Linked DNA regions of Homo sapiens: region 2 is linked to region 1. The links are contacts of gene promoters, found by promoter capture Hi-C in human tissues and cell types (Jung and others, 2019). All regions are on one chromosome and are shown on one strand. The core of a region is centred on a gene start or on the middle of the fragment in contact, and the rest is flanking DNA. Distances in the headings are between cores, read along the strand shown. Region 1 holds the start of POMGNT2 (protein O-linked mannose N-acetylglucosaminyltransferase 2 (beta 1,4-)). Region 2 overlaps ANO10 (anoctamin 10).

What was found. The method cuts DNA at HindIII sites, captures the fragments that hold promoters and counts their contacts. A contact is called where the count stands out against the background at its distance.
Region 2: a fragment that was not itself captured here is called in contact with the fragment with the promoter of POMGNT2 in region 1 in 1 of the 25 tissues and cell types used here (hippocampus).

What each region holds. Positions count from the first base shown.
Region 1 is chr3:43,102,662-43,108,197 of GRCh38, forward strand. POMGNT2 (protein O-linked mannose N-acetylglucosaminyltransferase 2 (beta 1,4-)) reads right to left here and starts at 3,418. Exons shown (of 2, transcript NM_032806.6): 1 at 3,175-3,418. RefSeq lists a silencer at 3,186-3,505. The HindIII fragment of the contact is 11,007 bases long and covers 231-5,536 here.
Region 2 is chr3:43,443,039-43,448,574 of GRCh38, forward strand. The region is part of intron 11 of ANO10 (anoctamin 10); the gene reads right to left. Among named protein-coding and RNA genes, the nearest start is that of SNRK-AS1, 94 kb to the left of the region's middle. The HindIII fragment of the contact is 5,138 bases long and covers 1-4,776 here.

The sequences.
Region 1 (5,536 bases), core at 2,168-4,667:
CCCCATTTTCTTTTAACATGAGAAAACCAAGTTTTAGTGGAGTTAAGTACCTTGCTTAAGGTCTTAAAGCTCAAGAAGGGCCACCAGGATTTGAACCTGCCTCTCACTAAGGTCTTGTTCTTAGTACCGTGCTCATCTGTCATCAGACTTGGAGGAACACTCAATGGCAGATAAGCAGAGTAGACTGTAGAGCAGTGAGTTTTTATTAGTCAAGGGCAGAGCAGGTGTGGTGGCCCTGGAAATGTAGAACCACAGGCCCTGGACTGTAACTTAGCAACCCAAGGCTTCTTGCTGTAATTCCTCCCCACCCAGCCAGGCAGAGGGTACCCAGCTGTGACAGGTGGCTTAGGGAGCTGTGGCCATTCTCTCACCCTAAGGAGAGTCTAAGTAACATACTAGTGTGATAATTTATCCCATGTGCCCTGGTACTGTGCTGAGAGGGTTAGGCCATCAATTTAGAATTACAAAACCACTGCCCTTTAGAGCTACAAGAACCCTTAGAAATGATTTCCTCCAACTCTTTATTTCATAAAAGAGGTCTGGAGAGGCAGTGTGAGCTCTCACAGGCAGCCAGGATTAAAATGGCAGAATGTTGGCTCTCAGTCCAGGGCTCCTTCTCCTCCCTTATCCACAGCTCAAGGGCTGCTCTCCCTCACAAAGCAAAGATAAGGCTCAGAGAATTATGCAGCCCCAGAACATTTCCCAGGAGCTAAACGAAGGCATTTCTTCTCATACACAAGCTTCCCAGATCCCACCCAGCCTGCACCCTCACCCAGCACTGCCCCCTCACCCAGCCCTGCTGTCCAGTGATGAGACCCTAAAGAGGCGACAGGGCTTGCCTGGGCTGCCTCTTCCTAACACCTCCTCCCCTGAACTCACTCAGGGACTGTCCCCTACAGCTTCACCATGCATCCAACACCAGCCACAGAGAGGAAACACACAGCCAGGCTGCAGGGTCCTGCCTCTGACCCACTTGGTGCGGGAAGACTCCCTGCTGCAAGACTGGAGGCTGCCCCAGGTCATAACTGGGCTTCAAGAATGCAAGAACAGCAAGGACGATGGGCAGCAGAGAAGGAGAATTACATGGCACCAGTTCTGGAGCTGGAGATGCCAGGATATGAATTCCCATCCCTGTCACTTAGCAGCTAAGTGACCTTAGGCCAATTCTTTACCTCTCCAAGCCTTCACTTCCTGGCTTGAAAAACACAATTATACCTACTTCACAGGGTAGTTTTGTGAATTCAAAGAGACAGCAAAGGCAAAACACCATGTCTGACAATTATTTTTCTAATATTATTATTAATCGTAATGGTAAAATAACTCCTGTTCACTGGCTTTCACTCTCAGCCAGGCACAGTGCTAACTGTTTTACACGCATTATCTCATTTATTCCCCACTACCTGAAGTAAATGCTATTAATTCAATTTCACATTTAAGAAGGTATGCTTAGAGGCATTAAGTGAATTGCCCAGTGATACACAGCAATTAAGTAGAGGGGTTAGGATTCAAAACCAAGACGGACTCCAAAGCCCGTGATGACATTTGCAGGTTCCACCTTTCACATTCATTATTTCATCCAATTTAAGAAACCCTGGGAATCACGTGATTGGTAGGTCCTGGGGGGAAAGTATCCCACTGACAACCAAGCTGAGATTGGCAAGGACCCTTGGAATGGGGGATTTGGTAATCTAATTTTCTAGTTAGTGCAATATTTACTAGAAGGCTTTGTTTATTGCTAAATATTTTCTAAAGCAAGGCTCAGAGCAAGAACTTGCCAACTAGCATGCTTACATGGCCACGGTGGGCCCAGCCACCAGCACCATGCCCTCCTTTCTGCTGAAGATCTCCACTCTCCTTCTCGTTCTCGCAGGGGCCCAAGGCTCAGGAAGGAACGTGCTGACCACCCCTGGGGATGAGGGGACCTATGCTCTTTCCTAGCTCTGCAGGGACTGAGATTCCTCAAAATTAATATTGAAAGGATGAGCTGGAAGATCTGCAAGATTCATGAGAGCCAGAGAGGGCAGCTAGTACCATTAAAGATGAACCTGGACTCCAAGCACCTCTAACACTTTCTGTCGTTAGTCACCACGACTGCTGATATTTGCCACACACTTACTGTTAGACATACTGGGCTGAGGACTTGCCTGGCACTATTTCATCCCCACTGCAACCCCGTGATAAAGGCACTGTACTTTCATCTCCACTTCACAGAGAAAGAAACAGAGGCTAAGAGAGGATAAGTGACTTGCTTAAACGCACACCGCTAGTAGCCGAGAACCAAGATTTGAAGGCGGGGCACATATTGTAGTAAACATTTGGTGAATGAAACCTCCTCTGTCTATGCTCTTAGCTACTAAGTCCTATCAAGCTCGCCCCATAACCCTGAAGTCATCCTTTTCCACGCGGAGCCTTGCTTCTCCCAAGAGTACGCTCTAAGTGTTGGCTGGCAATAAAGTAGGCAGACACTGGTCGCCCTGCACCTGGTGCAAGACTCTGGCCTGACGGTCACATACTTTAGCAGAGAGTTCCCATCAGTGAGCTGGAGACGGGTTCCTAAACACACACATGGAGTCAGGAGTTCACTGGGTTCCTTCTTCAGAGGCTACTCTGGCACTGCCAAGCAGGCCGTGGCAAGCTCTTACCACCGGACACACATGGTAGGTGCCCTACTGGCCCCCAAAGCGCCCAGGAATCAGCTGCAGGCCTGCCGGGGTTCTGCCTTCAAAGGCAGTTGGGGAGGCCCAGGCCCGCTCCGCGCACCTCGCGTGGCTCCCCACCACCCCCGCCAAATGTGCACCACCCATCACCTCCCAAAGCAAAAGGGCCTGAGGACCCGACGCCAGTGCCTGCCACGAGCTGAGGGCTCGAACTGGCAAGCCCCAGGGCGTTGCCCAGGTCCCCGGCCCCCGGCCCCCGACCCCCAATCCCCGGCCCCCGACCCTGAGGGTCCACCCCCGCCCCGCCCACCTCCCGCGCCTCCCTCAGCTCGCTTCACACGTCACCCCTCAGTTCTGCAAACTCTCCTGGATCCCGAAGGCGTCCTAGAACCTCCCCCTCACCCCGGGGCCCAGCACCGCGTCGTCCCCTCCAGGGGGCCGAGGGTTCGACACCTCCACTTCAAGTCCCAGGCGGGTGTCGGAGTCCGCTCCAGCCCCAAGCGCGCGCGCGTCTTACCTGAAGCCTGGACTCCGCGGGACGAAGCCACCTCCGCCGACGCGTCCAGGAGGCCCCACGGCGGCGCCGCTTTCCCACCCCGCCGCCGCCCCCAGCGCCAGCTTCTGGCCCAGGAGGCCCAGAAGGCCCAGGCAGCCAGCACAGGTTTGGCCGCGCCGCCGGGTTCGCAGCGACCGCCACCTCCAGGCTCGCAGGTGTCCGCCGTGCGCCTGCCCGGCGGGCGAGCCCGGCGCGGAGCCTGTGCGCCTGCGCAGAGCCGCGAGTTCGGTTGCCCTGGCCCCGGCCACAACCTTGGCTCGCGGAATCCTGGGAGGTGTAGTTTTGCGTACGAGGACAGCCCGCGCCGCCACCAGCCTGCGGAATGTTGGGAGTGATAATTTGCGCCGAGAGGCTGAGTTTTACTTAGTGTTAGGATTACACAGTTATGGCAGTTCTGATAATAAATTTAAATGCAAGTTTAACCAACAACCAAATGTCATTGTAAAGTCAAGGTAATTAATACGTTTACATGCTTTTAAAAATTGTAATGCTACAGAGAACTTACAAAAGCACCAGTCCTCTGCGGCACCATTCCATTAACCAGCTGTCACCTTATCCCACCGTCCAGTCCTGGCTGTCCAGTCCTCAAGGGCAGCTACTTATGGCTGTGGCATCTGGCATTCCCGCGGATTCTCCGAATATACATATGCCCCTATTTCTTGAGTTATGAATTTTAGATCTTTTGACTTCTTTTTTAGATCTCTTGACTTTTTTTGAACTTAAGTCATCTAGAGATGCACCTACCACCACCAACTCCACCTCCATAGAGTTATAAGATTTCTACCTATCAAATTGGGAAAGCCCTGACTTTAATTTATGATTATTTTAAATTAGCCCAAATGTTAAGGTATTAAGTTGGTAAATTTTTGCAGGGCAATTTGTCAATACAGCCAAAAACCTTTAAAAACATGTAGTCAAAAGCCTCTAACCAAGAAATTCTAATAATTGTGGATGACTGCAAAGGCTGAATAGTGTTGTTTAGATGATAATAAACTGAAAGGCTGAAGTGGTGATATTACTTTCAGAGAGAGTAGAATTGACAGCAAGGAAAATTACCAAGAATAAAAAAGGGATAATTATATAATGATAAAAGGTTCAATTCACCAAGAAGACATAATTCTAAATGTGGATACACCTAACGACATAGCCTTAACATAAATAAATCAAATGATAGAACCATAATTAGAAATAGACAACTCTGCAACTGTAATTGGAAACTTCAGCATCCCTCTCTCAACAACTGATAGAACACTAGACAGAAAGTCAGCAAGGATATAGAAAAGATCAACACTAATACCATCCTAATCTAATTGATATTTACATAATACTTCACCCACCAACAGAATACACATTCTTTTCAAGCAACCTTGGTATATATATTAAGATAAACTGTATCCTGGATCATAAGTTTTTAAATATACAGAAGACATTAATATATATTTTACCAAAGTAGTTATACAGATGGCAAATAAGGACAGATGTTCATCACTAGCCATAAAGGAAATGCAAATTAAGACTATGCTGAGATATCACCATACACCTATTTAAAACAGCTTAAAAAGGCAGGGCGCGGTGGCTCATGCCTGTAATGCCAGCACTTTGGGAGGCCATGGCTGGCGAATCACGAGGTCAGGAGTTCAAGACCAGCCTGGCCAACATGGTGAAACCTCGTCTCTACTAAAAATACAAAAATTAGCTGGATGTGTTGGTGCGCGTCTGTAAACCCGGCTACTCAGGAGGCTGAGGCAGGGGAGAATCACTTGAACCCAGGAGGCGGAGGTTGCAGTGAACCGAGATCGCGCCACTGCACTCCAGTCTGGGCTACAGAGCAAGACTCCATCTCAAAAACAAACAAACAACAACAACAACTACAAAACAGCTTAAAAAATAAAATAGCAAATGCTGGTGAGTATGCACAGAACTGGATCTCTCATATATTACTCACAGATGGGTATATCATGGTAGTTTCTTTTAAAAAACTAAACATATGCTTCCCATATGACTCATCAATCACACTCCTGAGCATCTATTCCAGAGAAATGGAAACTTATGTTAACACACAAACTTGTACACAATTGTTCCTACTTTCTTTATTTGTAATTGTCAAAAACTGTCAACAAACAAAATGCCCCTCGATAGGTGAATGGTTAAATAAACTGTGATTACATCTATATAAAGAATATCATTCAACAATAGAAAGGCACAATTGACACATGCCACAACTTGGGCATTATGCTGGGTGAAAAAAAGTCAGTCTCAAAAGGTTACATACTCTGGTTGCCATTTGTATAACATTCTTGAAATGACAAAACTATAGAGATGG
Region 2 (5,536 bases), core at 958-3,457, 340 kb after region 1:
CCTATGCCCTGGTGGTCACCCTGAGAAGACGTCTTCAGGGCAGGGCTGTGTCTATGACCCAGCTCACCTTGCTCCACTCCAACCAAGCTCCATTCCTAGTGTGCTGAGGATCCACACAGGGAATGACAGGGAACCACTAATATCACAAAAGGCCTAGGCCTCTGGGCTGCCTGCATGGGTGACTTTCCAAGATCAGTCGAGTGAACAAGGAGTTGGTCTTAAAAGATGTACAGCAAACCCTTGAAGCTTTGCTGAAAAAACAACTCACAAAAAGCAGATTAACAGGAGAAAAGATGTGATATGGATTCAGTTAATGAGAACTCAGGGAAGTGACCAGCAGTTAATTGTTTTCTTCTTTGGTAGGTCTGGACTTTAGGCAGACAAGGGAACTTTAGAGAATCTAATGCTTTGGGAGAGACAGTATGGGGGAGATCAGGGAGACCTTGAGGCTCCCTTTTCAGTTCAGCATGTCAAAGTGCAGTATTTGGGGGTATTGGTTTCTGAGTCTCAATAAATATTAATAGCTGGAATCTAAAAGAAGTATACAGGGAAAAAAGGGAATATGTTAGAAGAGTCAAAACAATGAGAGAGGGAGAACTGCTCAGTATGAAAGCATGAAAAGTATTTTACTTCCTTCCTTCTTTTTTTTTTTTTTTTTTTTGACGGAGTTTCACTCTTGTTGCCCAGGCTGGAGTGCAATGGCACAGTCTCGGCTCACTGCAACCTCCACCTTCCAGGTTCCAACGATTCTCCTGCCTCAGCCTCCTGAGTAGCTGGGATTACAGGCATGCACCACCACGCCTGGCTAATTTTTTTGTATTTTTAGTAGAGACGGGTTTCACCATGTTGGCCAGGCGGGTCTCGAACTCCTGACCTCAAGTGATCCACCTGCCTCGGCCTCCCAAAGTGCTGGGATTACAGGCATGAGTCACTGCACCCGGATCCTTCTCTATTTCATCATTTAATAGAAAAGGTGATTGGGGGAAATATCAATTAGACCAAATTAATGCAAGAAAATAATCTAAAGGGTTACAGACAAATTAAATCATGTGTCTCATTGGCTCTTCTCTCTTAAAATATAATCTCCATTGTAGGGACCTGCTAATCAAGAGGCTTGTTGTAGTTGAGGGACACTGAATGATGGGGTTGTCATTTGTCCCTAGGGTGAGAAAGCTGGCTTTCAAGGCTTTGGCATGCCCTGTGTCACCAAAGAACACATCTTATACAGCTTAAAGCAATTTACATGTGTTAAAGTTTGTTTTCCTCTCATTCAGAGCCACATTTCATGCACAAAGCAGTTTCTAGAGCAGATCTGATGATGGTGAAAGGAAATAAAATCTGTAAGAGGGTTATGTGTGATTTGGAGCTTGCTTTGTTTTTTCAACAATTATTTTGATCACTTGACAAGTAAAAAAACCAAGGAACATATAAAAACTGTGTGCCCAGAAATATTCTCTAACTAAGGCCTACAAAGCAAAGTGATATCTTAAGATTATGATTTCATTCTACTATATACTTACTTCATTTACTTTAATTGTATCAAGTGAGAATTTAAGTCACAATAGAGAAATACACACTTGTAAACCTTAAACTGTTAGCTATAAGGCAGATGTGGTACCGCAGGGGCCACAGGAAAGTGGGTGGCTCTACAACAGTGCAAGGAGAACACACAATCGACCTCCTGTGGTCACCTGACACAGTCATGGCGAGGACGGCAGGGTGCAGGACACTCCAGGTGGCCTAAATATATGTCAGAGTTAGAATAAAAAGCAAGGCTCAACTATGTTAACTGCAAGAAATCCATCTTAAATAGAGGGATTCAGGTTAAAAGTTAAGAGATGCTGGGAGGCCAAGGCGGGCGGATCACTAGGTCAGGAGATCGAGACCATCCTGGCTAACACGGTGAAACCCCGTCTCTACTAAAAATACAAAAAATTAGCCAGGCCTGGTGACAGGTGCCTATAGTCCCAGCTACTCCGTGGGCTGAGGCAGGAAAATGGCATGAACCCGGGAGGAGGAGCTTGCAGTGAGCTGAGATTGCACCACTGCACTCCAGCCTGGGCTACAGAGTGAGACTTTGCCTCAAAAAAAAAAAAAAAAAAAAAAGTTAAGAGATGCACACAGATCTTGGTTTCTAATACCATTGTCCAAAACAAAGGAACCAGAGCTCCTTGGAAAAATGGCTGAGTCTAGGACCGCAGCAGGAAATATACAAGATGAGTCTTATCAGATAAAAACTAAGGAAATCTGAATAAAGCATGAACTTTAGTTAATAATATTAATAGTTGTTCACTAATTATAACAAGTGTACCATACCAGTGTTAGATGTTAAAAGTAGGGGAAACTAGCTATGGTGTATATGGGAACTATCAGTTCTAGCTTGTTAACTTTTCTGTAATCTAAAACTATCTTAAAATTAAAAACTTTATTTTAAAAAGACTTTTACTTTATCATATATATTTATCCCAAAATCACAGGTAAAACAATGAATAATTAAACTAGGATTCCAAACAAACCATCTAAAAACAACTCAGCAAAATCTGCTAAACCAGTTCTCAGGTTAAGGGTGAATATCCTGAAAATGACCTACATCTCCCAAATCTATGACCATGTTTCCTTACATTAGAAATATCATTGCCTACAACACAGGCAATGCATTTTTTTTTTGTATTTTTTGTTTTTGAGACGGGGTCTCACTCTGTCACCCAGGCTGTGTAGTGGCACTATCTCAGCTCACTACAACCTCTGCTTGCCGAGCTCAAGTGATCTTCCCACCTCAGCCTCCAGAGTAGCTGGGACTACAGGTGTGCACCACCATACCCAGCTAATATTTGTATTTTTTGTAGAGACGGGGTTTTGCCATGTTGCCCAGGCTGGTCTTGAACTCCTGAGCTCAAGCAATCTTCCCACAGCCTCCCAAAGAGCTGGGATTACAGAACACCAAACCCAGCCTTTGTTCTGTCAGGAGCTGTCCAAACACTGATGAGAGTAAAGACAAGAAGCCTGGCGGAGAGAGAAACGTATAGATATCACTGTGTGTAGAATTCTTAGAGTGGGTGATCACTTTGTGACCTCCACTGTCATCAGCTTCGGGGCCCAGGGTTCATGTCCCACATTTTATTGTGCCTTAGGGCCTAACAGAGCATGTGGATTCAGGAAGGAATGCTTCCCATCTTCTACTTCTCAGATTGCATTTAAATTTACTCCTTGTTGAACTTATCAGCAATAACTCAAGCTTCTCAGGTTTTGCTTTAATGTAACCTTTGATATCTTTGTCAGAGCAAGGGAAGTGGGAAAAATGTACAGAGGCAGTGGATATAGAAGAAAGGGGATGAAAGAAGTAAAGCCAACTGGCAAGTCTTTGCTCTGAGAGAGAGCAACTTCATACAATTGAACAGAGAGTTTGTAACAAAAAAGAGTTACAACTTTTTATAACTGCATATTTTTTTCAAAGATAACATTTTCTGTTCTCCGCTGATATATTTTCTTGAAGAAAATACTGGTTTATGGTTTATTACTTGTTATGTTCTTAAGATATGCTTGAGGCACACTACTGTCAGAAAAGTAAGGAGAAATTTGAACTACTTCTTTGAGAAAGTCAGGTTTTCACTAGGGAGACCCTCTCAGTTACAAAGTGACAATAACAATCAATTTTAACAACTCAGAACTTGCCATACCGAAAACACTCGAGGGAAGATGAATATTCATAGGTAGATAAAAATAATTTTTAAGGTTTAACAACAGCAAAAGCGATTTATCCTAGCTATTCTGAATTTATTATTAAAAAATGTATATACCTATATCTTTTTGAACTATAGTTTGAAGGTAATACAGTCACATGGTTAGGAAAAAAGGTATAAAGTGATACCCCTACCCCTGCCCTCATCTTCCCAATGCCCCACTGTGCCTCCTGCCCACATGTACAATCAGAATATATTAATATTTTCTCCATGTTTATATAAAAGGAGCATACAGAAATACTGTTCAGCATTTTCCTTTTTTGTATTTCCTAATATTAGAGATCTTTCCATATTAGTACCTAGACAGCACCCATACTTTATCGACCAGTGATGGACATTTACACTATTTCCAATATTTTTGTTATTAGTAAGGGTGCTGCAATAAATTTCCTCCAACATTTGTCATTTTGTGCACAGGCAAGTATATTTGTGGAATACATTCCCAAAGACAGAACTGCTCGGTCAAAGGATATACACAGTTGTAATATAAGTAGATTCTGTCAAATTGTTCCGTACATGGTATTAAGCACGCATGTACAATCAACAGCTGAATATGAGACTCCCTGGTCCTCCACAGCCTTGTCGACCCAAGGTGATATCCCTCTGGTGGATTTCTGCCAATCTGATAAGGTGACAATAGGTGTTTCAGTTTAGTTTCCACTTGCCTATCTTACTCTGAATGATGTTGAGCACCTATTCACACACTTAACCGCCATTTGCATTTTGCTTTTTTTGTAAACTTTCTGTTCATAATGAAAAGCATTTGAGAAGGTTGAGGGATTGGAGAAAAGGGAAGAAAGAAGAAGAAAGACACTGATTCCAGTTCTGTACAAGTACAAATAACTCATTTTTTGGCTTAAATTGGATCTATATATTAGAACATGTTAAATTCTAATGAAGTTCTACTATTTTTTATTGAGATTTTATTTTTAAAGCAGTTTTAGTTTTGTAGAAAAACTACACAGAAAGTAGAGAGTTGCTGTATACCTGTCATTCTCCCAGTTTCCCCTATTATTAAGGTCTAACATTTGTATTGTTCATCTGCTACAATTGATGTACCAATACTGATACTTTATTATCAACCAAGGCCCATAGTTTACATTAGGGTTCACTATACAGGTTTTCACAAATGCATTGTTATGGCTTGAATTTCTGTGTCCCCACAAATTCACATTTTGAAGTGCTAACCTCCAACACGATGGTTTTAGGAAGTAGGGTGCTAGGGAGGTAATTAGGTTTAGACAAGGTCATAAGGATGGAGCGACAATGATGGGATAGTGCCCAGATAAGAAATGGAAGACAGACCTAGAGCTTCCTCTGTCTACCACATGAGGATTCAAGAAGGCCTAAGAATCAAATCTGCCAGCATCTTAATCTTGGACTTCTCAACTTCCGGAAGCATGAAAAATAAATGCCATTTAGGCCACTTGGTCTGGTATTCTGTTATAGCAGCCTGAGCTGAGACATACATCATGTCATGTATCCACCATTACAGTATCATACATGATAGTTTTACTGCCCTAAAAACCCCTGTGGTTCACTTATTCATTCCACACTTCCTCCCTTGCATCTCTTCCCTCCCCCTCAACTCCCAGCTGCCACTGATCTTTTTACTGTCTCTATAGTTTTGTCTTTTCTAAAGTGTTATATATTTGGAATCATACAGTATATAGCCTTTTCAGACTGACTTCTTCCACTTAGGAACAGGCATTTAAGGTCCCTCCATGTCTTTTCATGGCTTGATAGCTCATTTCTTCTTAACAGTGATTATTATTCCCTCATATAGATGTACAACA